Regions from separate parts of the Homo sapiens genome. Here regions 2 and 3 are each linked to region 1. Evidence: promoter capture Hi-C in 16 types of primary human blood cells and fetal thymus (Javierre and others, 2016). All regions are on one chromosome and are shown on one strand. Each heading gives the region's core, a stretch centred on a gene start or on the middle of the fragment in contact. The rest is flanking DNA. Distances are from core to core; before and after follow the strand shown.

The links. The method cuts DNA at HindIII sites, captures the fragments that hold promoters and counts their contacts. A CHiCAGO score of 5 or more calls a contact.
Region 2: the fragment with the promoter of F2RL2 here is called in contact with the fragment with the promoter of S100Z in region 1 in 4 of 17 cell types (endothelial precursors, neutrophils, monocytes and 1 more); the score reaches 8.2 in endothelial precursors.
Region 3: a contact is called between the fragment with the promoter of F2R here and the fragment with the promoter of S100Z in region 1, in 13 of 17 cell types (monocytes, erythroblasts, M0 macrophages and 10 more). The highest score is 10.5, in monocytes.

The regions. Positions count from the first base shown.
Region 1 is chr5:76,848,156-76,851,646 of GRCh38, reverse strand. S100Z (S100 calcium binding protein Z) reads right to left here and starts at 1,633. Exons shown (of 5, transcript NM_130772.4): 1 at 1,492-1,633. The HindIII fragment of the contact is 3,987 bases long and covers 1-2,213 here.
Region 2 is chr5:76,621,766-76,625,256 of GRCh38, reverse strand. F2RL2 (coagulation factor II thrombin receptor like 2) reads left to right here and starts at 1,854. Exons shown (of 2, transcript NM_004101.4): 1 at 1,854-2,090. The coding sequence starts at 2,027. The region is part of intron 13 of IQGAP2 (IQ motif containing GTPase activating protein 2); the gene reads right to left. RefSeq lists a silencer at 1,779-2,073. The HindIII fragment of the contact is 2,136 bases long and covers 1,034-3,169 here.
Region 3 is chr5:76,714,450-76,717,940 of GRCh38, reverse strand. It overlaps F2R (coagulation factor II thrombin receptor), which reads right to left and starts at 1,815. Exons shown (of 2, transcript NM_001992.5): 1 at 1,546-1,815. The coding sequence starts at 1,633. RefSeq lists a silencer at 1,760-2,009. The HindIII fragment of the contact is 2,891 bases long and covers 572-3,462 here.

The sequences.
Region 1 (3,491 bases), core at 384-2,883:
CCCCTGCTCCCTTCTTCCTCTACCCCAGAGGGGATCCCCTTTTTTTGCTGCTCCAGTCAACAGCAATACCCTCATTCACCCAACTGCATGGCCAGAAACCTGAGTATGATGCTATTCCTGGCCCCTCTCTCTCTCTCATGCAATCAGTTGCCAGGTTGTATCTCCTCACTCTCTGTTCCTTCCTCCTCAACCCTAGCGCCATAGTTCAGGCCCTTGTCACTTCTGGCCTGAATTACTGCATGAGATCCCAACTCACCTCCTGCACCTACTTTGCTCTTCTTCAAAATTAGCCTCCCCTGCCTGCTGGGAGGCACACCTGAGCTCCTCACTTAACCTCCTGGACAGGCCCTGCCATCCCCTGGCTAAATCTAAACTCCCCGCAGTGTGCCCACCCATCCCCTCTGCACCATCTGTGCCGCACACGTGGCACTGCCACTGTGCTGCCCATTCCTCTGCTCAGGTGCCAGTCCTCCAGGGAAGCCTCCGATGCCCCTCAGCTCCTGGGAGCACTCCGCCTCTGGGTGCCCCTGTATCACCTCATGCTTTCCTCTAGACCTGCACCGGCACTGGGTTGAAGGAAAATAATAGTAGCCAACGTTAATTAGCACATACTCTGGGCCAAGCACCCTTCTAGGCAGTTTAAATGTATTCCTTTATGTCATCCTCAAAAATCCCATGAGGAGGCTGGGGAGCGGTGGCTCATGCCTGTAATCGCAGCACTTTGGGAAGCCAAGTGGGAGGTGGAGGTTGCAGTGAGCTGAGATCACACCACTGCACTCCAGCCTGGGTGACAGAGTGAAACTCCATCTCAGAAAAAAACAAAAAACAAAAAAAACTTTATTTCTCTGTCTAACCCAAATTTTGTGTCCTCTCACCAACTTCTCCCCAGCCCCTCCATCCCTCTTCCCTCTCTTCTTCTGTAGGCTGAGAGCAGCCATTCCAGGGCTGATTGTCCAGGCATGCCCAGCACTGGCCAGTGTGAAGAGGAGGAGCATAGACCACTGCTGTGACTTCCTGGGAGTGGGCTTACACTGGCATCTGTGCAGGCTTCAGGAAAAAGAAGCGAAATCACGGCGTGGATCTAAGGGGCCAAGCCTCACCTTGAAGGTTCTTCTGGGTCTTTGGCCTGGACAAGAACATGAAACTTGAATTTCTCAAGGTGAGGTGAAGGCCAAGCAGGAAGCCAGGATGGTCACCAGGAAAGGAGCCAGAATGAACTAAGTGTTCTTTAGGGCAAGGAACTTACCAGAACCTCTACGCTCCGAGCTATGATCAGGCTGCTCTCTCCCTCTCTCTCTCTCTCTCTCTCTCCCCCACCCCCCCGACCCCTTTGTGGCCAAGGTAAGGCCACATTTTAGAGTGGAAGCCCCAAGGCAACCCCCCACCTCACAACCTCCACTCTTGTTGCCCTCTCTAATCCAACGCCTGCCAGGCTCACACTTCAACCACTAGACTGAAAAGCAAGAATCTTCCACAAAAATAATCTTTTACCTTAGACCTGCTTCCTGTGCAGATGAGATAAGGAGAATGCTCTTGTCTGAATTTCTGGGCGTGGAGATTAGCAAGCCGTTTTCCTCCCAGCAGCTAGAGCGAGCAAGAGGCCCTGCTGTGAGTAGTGCTGTTCTGAGTCTGCGTGGTCCAGACTCACCACACTGCAGGCACGTTTCTTCATCAGGTGGGAAAGCAGGAAGAGGTTTAATTTAGGACCTAAAGCTGGTATATTGCTGAGTAAAAGAAATGGGAAGGCACCAAGTCTCTAACGAAATTGCGCTGGGTGCAGTGGCTCATGCCTCTAATCCCAGCACTTTGAGAGGCTGAGGTGGGTGGATCACTTGCGGTCAGGAGTTTGAGACCAGCCTGGTCAACGTGGCGAAACCCCATCTCTACTAAAAATATAAAAATTAGCCAGGCATGGTGGCGGGCGCCTGTAATTCCAGCTACTCGTGAGGCTGAAGCAGGAGAACGCTTGAACCTGAGAGGCAGAGGTTGTAGTGAGCTGAGCTCGCCGCTGCCCTCCAGACTAGGTGACAGAGCCAGATTCCGTCTCAAAAAAACAAAAAAAAAAGAAAAAGAAACTGCTTGTGATCCAACACTCCCCCACTGGTGCCTCCTCATGGTGAAGAGCAATTACTCTGGCACCAGAGTCTTGGGGTTCAAATCCTTACTTCACCAGTATGTGACTGGAAAAGCTACCTAACCTGCCTGCTGAAGCTTCATGGCTAATAATTCCTCACAGCATTTCTTTTTTTCTTTTTTTTTTTTGAGACAGAGTCTTGCTCTGTCACCCAGGCTGGAGTGCAGTGGCATCATCTCAGCTCACTGCAACCTCCACCTCCCTGGTTCAAGCTTCTGCCTCAGCCTCCCAAGTAGCTGAGATTACAAGCGCCCACCACTAAGCCTGGCTAATTTTTGTATTTTCAGTAGAGATGGGGTTTCACCATGTTGGTGAGGCTGGTCTTGAATTCCTGACCTCAAGTGATCCGCCCACCTTGGCCTCCCAATGTGCTGGGATTATAGGCGTGAGACACTGCGCCTGGCCCAGGAGGAATAAGTTTAAGAGCTCCCATTGTACAGCATGCTATCTATAGTTAATAACAATATATCGTGTATCGAAAATTGCTAAGACAGTAGATGTTAAGTGTCTTTATCACCCCCAAAAAATGACAAGTATATGGGGCAATTAAGTCAAATAGCTTGACTTAATAATTCCACAATGTATACATAAATTAAAACATCAAGCTGTATTTGTATACCATAATATATACAATTTTTACTTGTCAATTAAATAAATAAATACACAGAAAAGGGCAGAGACAGGTCAAGAAGCACAGCACTCAGTACAGAAATACAGATAACAATATATTGAAAGAAAGAATTCAAAGATAAATTTTTTTTTTTTTTTTTTGGAGACAGAGTCTTGCTCCATTGCCTAGGGTAGAGTACAGAGACACAATCACAGCTCTCTGCAACCTCAACCTCCCAGGCTCAAGTGATCCTCCCACTTCAGCCTCCCAAATAGCTAGGACTGCAGGGTATGCCACCACAACCTGGCTAATACTTGTATTTTTTTGTAGAGATGGGGTTTCACCATGTTGCTTGCCCAGTCTAGTCTTGAACTCCTGGGCTCAAGTGATCCTCCCAGCCTGGCTTCCCAGAGTGCTGGGATTACAGGCACCAGCCACCGCACCCGGCCAAAGATATGTTCTGAAGATTGAAACGTCTCTCTTTCCAAAATAACTACTCTTGGCCAGGTATGGTGGTGTGCGCCTGTAATCCCAGCTACTCGGGAGGCTGAGGCAGGAGAATTGTTTGAATCCGGGAGGCAGAGGTTGCAGTGAGCCAAGATTGTTCCACTGCACTCCAGCCTGGGCAAGAGTGAGACTCCGTCTCAAAAAACAAACAAAACCCAAAAACCTCTTGACTGGGTGCTGTGCCTCAAGCCTGTAATCCCAGCACTTTGGGAGGCAGAGGTGGGAGGATCACTTGAGCCC
Region 2 (3,491 bases), core at 605-3,104, 230 kb after region 1:
GGCAGTAACAATCTTACTTCAAAGCTTAAAGTATTAGTCTTATAGGCCAAACTGAAGAGAGAAATTACAAATCAGATGAATTTAAGTCAACGGTTTAAATTATGAAACATTGAACTAACGATTACTAGAGTTAAATGTAAAACCAAAAGTAAAAGCTGAATCTTATCAATGTAAAGTCTGCTTTTTCTTATTTATTTTATTTTTGAGATGGAGTGTTGCTCTGTCACCCAGGCTTGCTCACTGCAACCTCCGCCTCTCAGGGTCAAGCTATTCTCCTGCCTCAGCCTCCCAAGTAGCTGGGATAACAGGCGCCCGCCACCACGCTCAGCTAATTTTTGCATTTTTAGTAGAGATGGGGTTTCACCATGTTGGTCAGGCTGGTCTCAAACTCCTGACCTCAAGTGATCCCCCCACCTCAGCCTTACAAAGTGCTGGGATTACAGGCATGAGCCACTGTGCCCAGCCAAGTCTGCTTTTTCAGTTGTTCACCAGAAGACTGAAAATAATAGTATATTTATGGGACGGCCACACCTCCACTTCAGTTAAACAGCCAGGTTCAACATAAGAGTTACAAATGAATTAAATGACCAGAAACTAGGCCATGTGCAAATCAAGTCATAAATTCCTGAATTTAGATAACTCCCAGAAAAGTTCTAATGAAACAAAAAAAACCTTTGTCAATATTTTAGGTTTTATATTTCTGCAATATAATAACATTCTATCTCAGTTTGTATAACCATATATTATGTAGTTGAAGTATTAAACACTGACCTTTGTAAAAATCTTGGTCTAATGTAATTTAATCAAGATGTGAAAGGTTTCCGCAGATCAATTTCTTCCTAGCATATCCCTAGCCTTTAAGTCTCATGTGAAATTTGTATTTTCTGATTCTTGCTGCATTTTGTAAAGAGCAGGCTGTGGGATGGTCAGGCTTCAAGTTTAAGTTTTATTAACTACAGAAAAATGTGTTATAATGCATTTTTTTACTGTATATTAAGTCATACTCTACAGAATATAACAATTCATAAAAGCTTATATGTTGTACAACAATGTGAATGTATTTAACATTACTGAACTGTACACTTAATACTGGTTAAGATAGTAAATTTTATGTTACGTATATTTTACCACTATTAAAAATATCTTATTGTAGACTTATTCACCAACACTCATGGAATAAAGGGAGTCCTCATTTTCATGATGTGCTATGATTTTAGTTTAACTGAACAGCGTTGTTTGGGAGGTTCCTCCAGTTATCTGACCCTAAGGGTTATTGAATGGCTCAAAACACATCAAGATAAGGCAAAAAAAAAAAAAAAAGCCTGAACAAACGCCATCCTCACCCGGCGAAGAAAAACCACCACCACTCAAAAGCCAGGTTCTGGCCAGGCACTGACGACAAACTGAAATCAATATTACATTGATGGAAAATTTTCAAAGTGATTCACCGCTCAATTTGAATTTCTTAAAAGTTTGTTTTCCATGATTAATTTATAATTATGTAAAGTGTTTAAGGATTAAGATTTGAAATAGCTGGGAAGATAAAGGAAAGGATAATTTATTAAGTAGAAATTACACTCTGGAACTGCATTTTTAAAACGGATAAGAAATGAAATGTGGGACAGATTCAAAACTTACTGCTGTTCAACATCTGTTTTTGGCTTAGTTCTGTAAAGGCCTGTGTAATTTCTGCCATTCTTTAAAAGCAAATCTACTAGGGGAGAATTACAGCACCTATTCAGAATAGATTGTTGGGGGTGGGTAAGAGTTAAATGCCTTTCTCCAGGGATAACGTAACACGTTCAGAGGCTTGGCCTGAGTCATGCTTACTGAAGCATCGAGTGGATTACATCCTTTCCCTGCGGAGGACCAGGGCAAGTTTCCTGCCTGCACGGCACAGGAGAGCAAACTTCTACAGACAGACCAAGGCTTCCATTTGCTGCTGACACATGGAACTGAGGTGAAATTGTGCTCCATGATTTTACAGATTTCATAACGTTTAAGAGACGGGACTCAGGTCATCAAAATGAAAGCCCTCATCTTTGCAGCTGCTGGCCTCCTGCTTCTGTTGCCCACTTTTTGTCAGAGTGGTAAGCAATTTTCTCAGGGGGTAGGATGGGGATGTGGGTTTCTGTTACAAATTAAGAGTCAACTGAACCTAGGTTTCTTTGCATCTCACACAAACTGTAAACCCCAAAGGCAGTTTGATCTTTATTATTAAAAGGTAGAATCATGGAAATGAACATCTATAGTTCATTCACTCTATTCAAACCTGGTCATAGACTAAGTGTTCCCTCCTGATGTTTAAAAATGTGTGGCATATTCAAGATTTTAGATGTCTACGATTAAGTCAGGGAGCAATTTTGAAAGTCGTTTTTGTGTTTGTAAGAATTTCTCTTCTGGTTAAGCAAAGATGGCACTTTTTCTAGGGATTAAAATATATATCCTGTGTTTAAACCTCTTGGTGAGACATAAATGGGAGAAACAAGAATACTGCCAGAAAGAGAAAGTCATCTGCTTTCAATAGCTGGCAATGCTAATAAGTCAGTATTTCCGAAATGAATGACCTTTTTTGACTTTAAGTGGGGAGTTCTCCCTACCCTCATATATGATTTTTTAATTTTAAAAATAAGGTCTCCCAAATACTATTATTCAACTTTGAATGTACTTTCCACTTTACCCATCACAATGTTAGCCTGAAACCTCCTGCTTTTTCCAAAAATAACAAATTTGGGATAGGTCTGTACCTGTTACTCTTTGTTAGGTCACACACTCCAGTCAACATTGTTAGGAGTGGGAGAGGCAAAGACTGGACATAGCAAGGGAAACAAAAACAGAAATCAATGCTTTCTAAAGGAACATTGCTTAAATTCACATTTGGAATCCCTGAGCGGTTGCAGAGAGCTCTAAGAGAATCTGTGGTGATTAGCAGTAAGCACATGTGGGATTTATGAATATAATAAGTGCACGCTCTTTCTGGGAGTAGATGGGCCAATATGTTGAGAAGCAGAATTGCAAAAGAAGCAAGGTTTTCGGGGGTGGTTCCTTCAAGACGCTAATAGGGTTTGATGGAGGTGAAAACGGGGGCCTCTGAAGGAAACAAAGAGGCAGTGAATTTGCTTTCTTCCATGGGGTGGGGGAGAAATGTGAAGGAAGAATGAAGCAAGCTTGTCCAACCTGCCTTATTTCGTTGTGGTTTTGTTTTGTTTTAGGCTTTTAGCAGCCTGAAGCCATGGTTTTTAGTTTCTGTCTCTAGAGGTAAATGGAAAAGAGGGATGAGGAAGGGGCTTTACTGGCTCAACTAGAAACAGAAACTATGAATCCATGACTGTATTCTCTCCCTTGGACACCCCTGAGAGGCCGGAGTTCATTCTCTTTGGATTAGTTCTTCAAGGCCTTTTCCCGGATAGAAAAACATTTCCGAAATATTATGCCCAATGGAAGCCTCTATAAAGAATTAAAATACAATAAAAAAATTTAACAATGAGTAC
Region 3 (3,491 bases), core at 566-3,065, 130 kb after region 1:
CACTGTCCATATTAACATGCACCACTCCTGCCATGAGGATGTAAGAAGCTTGGCAGAAACCAGTACGCTTTGACTTCACTCCCTAATGAGGCTACACACCTTGCTGGGAGGCCACTGTGAGAAAGGGTGCAGCATTTCTATAAGCTCTGTTCTCCACCCCATGATCCAAATCTCAAACAAAACACTGGATTCTCAAGAGCGTGTCCTCAAACTACATTGTGCAAATTACATAATGGTATGTGAAATCATATCTCATCGCAAACAATTTTTCAGGAGTTCTCGGTGTTCTCTCAAACACTTTCGGCAACAATGCTCACTTATCTGCAGGCAGGCTAGTTACTGCTAAACACTGGGCCCCAGTCTGGAGCTCTTAGTTTTCCCAAAAGCATCTCAAAACTCACCCTGAACAAAGACAGAGAGGCGAGAACATGCTATGTCTTTGTCACCTCTTAATCTTGATGTGTCTACACTTTTTTTTGAGTGTGGGAGCAATATAGAGTGCACATTCTTTTAGCGATAACAAGAAAACCCGCTAGAACTTCTTTCAGCGTAAAAAAAATGGCTCAAAGCTTATAAAATACTATTGTTATTAGGAAATTCAAAAACACTTTTCTCACTTTCTAATTAGCGCCTTTACAGGCTAAAAACAACTCATCTGTGCTGCTCTTGGGGAAAGGGATACAGAAAATATTTGACCAAATAAATTAATCAAATTTATTTATTTGGTCAAGTGGCCAGATACTTAAAAATAGACTACTAGTGGGGAAAATATTCTAGGGGAGCAACCTTCTTGCAGTGGATCAGAAATCTCGTTAAGAAATACTGGGATCCCACAGTGTTCGAGGGAGCCCGGTCCTGGGGAGGGATCTCTCTCTTCAACTCACTTAGAAGGAATGGGTTCTAGGTAACAACAAAATCCTCTCCATGTCCCCTCCCCCGCCACCACGCGGAGCCTCTGCTATTGTCACCATATATCTCGCACCCTGCGCACCTCCTGGACACAAGGCCGGGCCGGGGGCTGCTGGTACTGATTCTCTGCTAAACATGCCAAGGGACTGCCTGGGCTTTTCTCTACATCACTTTTCTCGCCTGTAAAATGTGCAAGAAAAAAACTTCCAACAAAGCAAAACTTCAGCGGCAGCGGTTCGCCACTTTATATTTTAAAGATCGAAACGTTTATTGGTGGAGCAACGTGAGAGCTTTTCTTTTTGGGGGTGGTCCTGGGAGAAACACAATGACAAGTGCAACGCAGGACTGCAGGCTCCCCCAGGGGGCTTCCGCTCCATCCTCCTCCATATCCAACACCCCGTGGCAGGCGGGCTGCACCCTCCAAGATCGAGTCCAAAGGGGCATCGGCTGGGCCCGCGAAGGGGGTGGCACGCCCCACCTAAACGTGACTGGAAAAAACTCCAGATCTCAGCCCAAATGCCAGTTTGGCTTTCGGAGGAAACTGAGGCAGGGGTGAGGAGAAGGCGCAACAGTGACCCCCGCAGTCTCCCCTCGGCGTCCCTCCGCCCGCGCACCCCATTCCCGTGCATCTCTCACCTGGCCTGCGGGCCCGGGTGCGGGCAGACAACAGCGGGCCGCACAGACTGAAGCAGGCGGCCACCAGCAGCAGCCGCCGCGGCCCCATTGTCCCGGGCTCTGCGCGGCGCTGCTCCGGGAGGCTGCCCCGCCTCGGGCTGCTCCGCTTCACCCTCTCTCCTGACTTCTGCGGGTCGGGGAGCCGGTCTTCGCGGCAGGCAGAGCGCAGGGTGCCCACGGGTAAGATCAGGGTCCAAGCGACCCTCGGCGAGCGCTGTGTCTGGGGCGGTTAGCGGGGCGGGGCGGGACTGGGGCGCGCGGTCGCGCGGGCGCGAGCGAGGAAGGGCGCCCTCCGGCGTGCAGTGAGAGTCTCTGCGCTGGAGCCGCTCGGCGCCCCCTCCCCGCGGTCCCTCAGCCGCCGCTCGCAAGCCCCTCTGGCTCTGTGCGCCCCGCCCCGCCCCGCCCTGCCCTACTGGGGGGCCCTGGCCGCCGGCCACTGCCGGGCCTAGAAGTCCAAATGAGAAGTTTTTTCCTCTGGGCACCGTTGATTCGCGAAGCTGTCAGTGACTCACACTGGCGGGGTCCTTGGAATGGGGCCGCACGGCTCGCAGGCTGCTTCCCGCGGCCGTCTCGACCCTCCTGGGATGTGGAGACGTCGACAGTGGACGCCCCGGCCAGGATGCGTCCACGCCCTGCAGCCCCGCAGCCCTGGCGTGGCCTCCCGTCCTCCCTCCCTCCGTGTGGGACACCGGCAAAGTTCAGTTTTCGCTAAAAGTCTAAAAGGGACTTCTGCTTTTGTAACGTGGGGATCACGGATTTAAAAGTTTATGATGTAGTGACAGGGTTGCCCCTAAATGAGAAAGGGCCCTTGAGTCTGGACAGAATTCTTGAACTTTTATACGTCTCTCTTTATTTCGCGAAGTTAGGCGTTTCATACGCCGGGCACTCGTTTCCCCCACACGCAGACTGCGAGTGGAATAGGAAGAGCGGCTTCTCCCGCTTCCCCCCCGCGCGGCCTCGCGGAGCTCTTCCCTTTCCCGCGCCGCCCGCCGGGGTCACCTGCGCATCTGGGAGGAGGGCGCGCGTCTGCCGGTGAGGCCGGCGTTCTAGGGCCGCGGGCGCCCAGGAGAGAAATGGCCTGGTAACTTTCCAAGTGTCCTTCACACGTTCTTGAACGATATTACAGTTTGTTTTGTTTTTGAGGCAGGGTCTTGCCCTGTCGCCCAGGCTGGAGTGCAGTGGCGCCAACACGGCTCACTGCAGCCTCGATCTCCCTGGCTCAGGCCACCCTTTCGCCCCAGCCTCCGGATTACCTGGGACCACAGAAAGGCGCGCGCCACCATGTCCGGCTAATTTCACTGCTGGCCTCAAGCGATCCTCCTGCCTCAGCCTCCTAAAGTGCGGGGATTACAGGCGTGAATCACCGCGCCAGGCCTGATATTAAAGGAGTTTGGCTAAATTCAAGGCACAGGGCGGGGACACTCGCTTGGCAGTCTGCTAAGGGCCCCCAGGGGCGTCGCGGCTGGGGGTGGGCAGGAGGAGCCTGCAGCTTAAGTTGCTTTGCCACTGGCTCTGGTGCGTGCGCCTTTCAGACTCCAACAGGAAATGGGTCCCCAAATAGCTGTTTCTAGGAAAGCTCAGCCGCAGCCCCTTCTCCTCTTAACCCAGCGCACTGATGTGCGGGCATATTCGGAGTTCTGTGGTTGATAAGCTGCAGCTGAGAGCCGGTGGTCAGTTTTCTAAGCCTTTTTTAAAAGTGAATTTCGCACGAAGAGTATCATTCCCCCACTAGAGCCCGGACACTTACATCCGTGGAGAAAGTACGATCAGAGGCGATTTCGTTCTTCCCTGTATTCTCCCATCATCCTCAAAGGACAGTACCTTGTTGTACACAGAAGTTGATCACTAAATTGCGGAAGTACCCAGTTAAATAAAGCTTTTTAAAATCTATCCCCGTTCAGTTATCC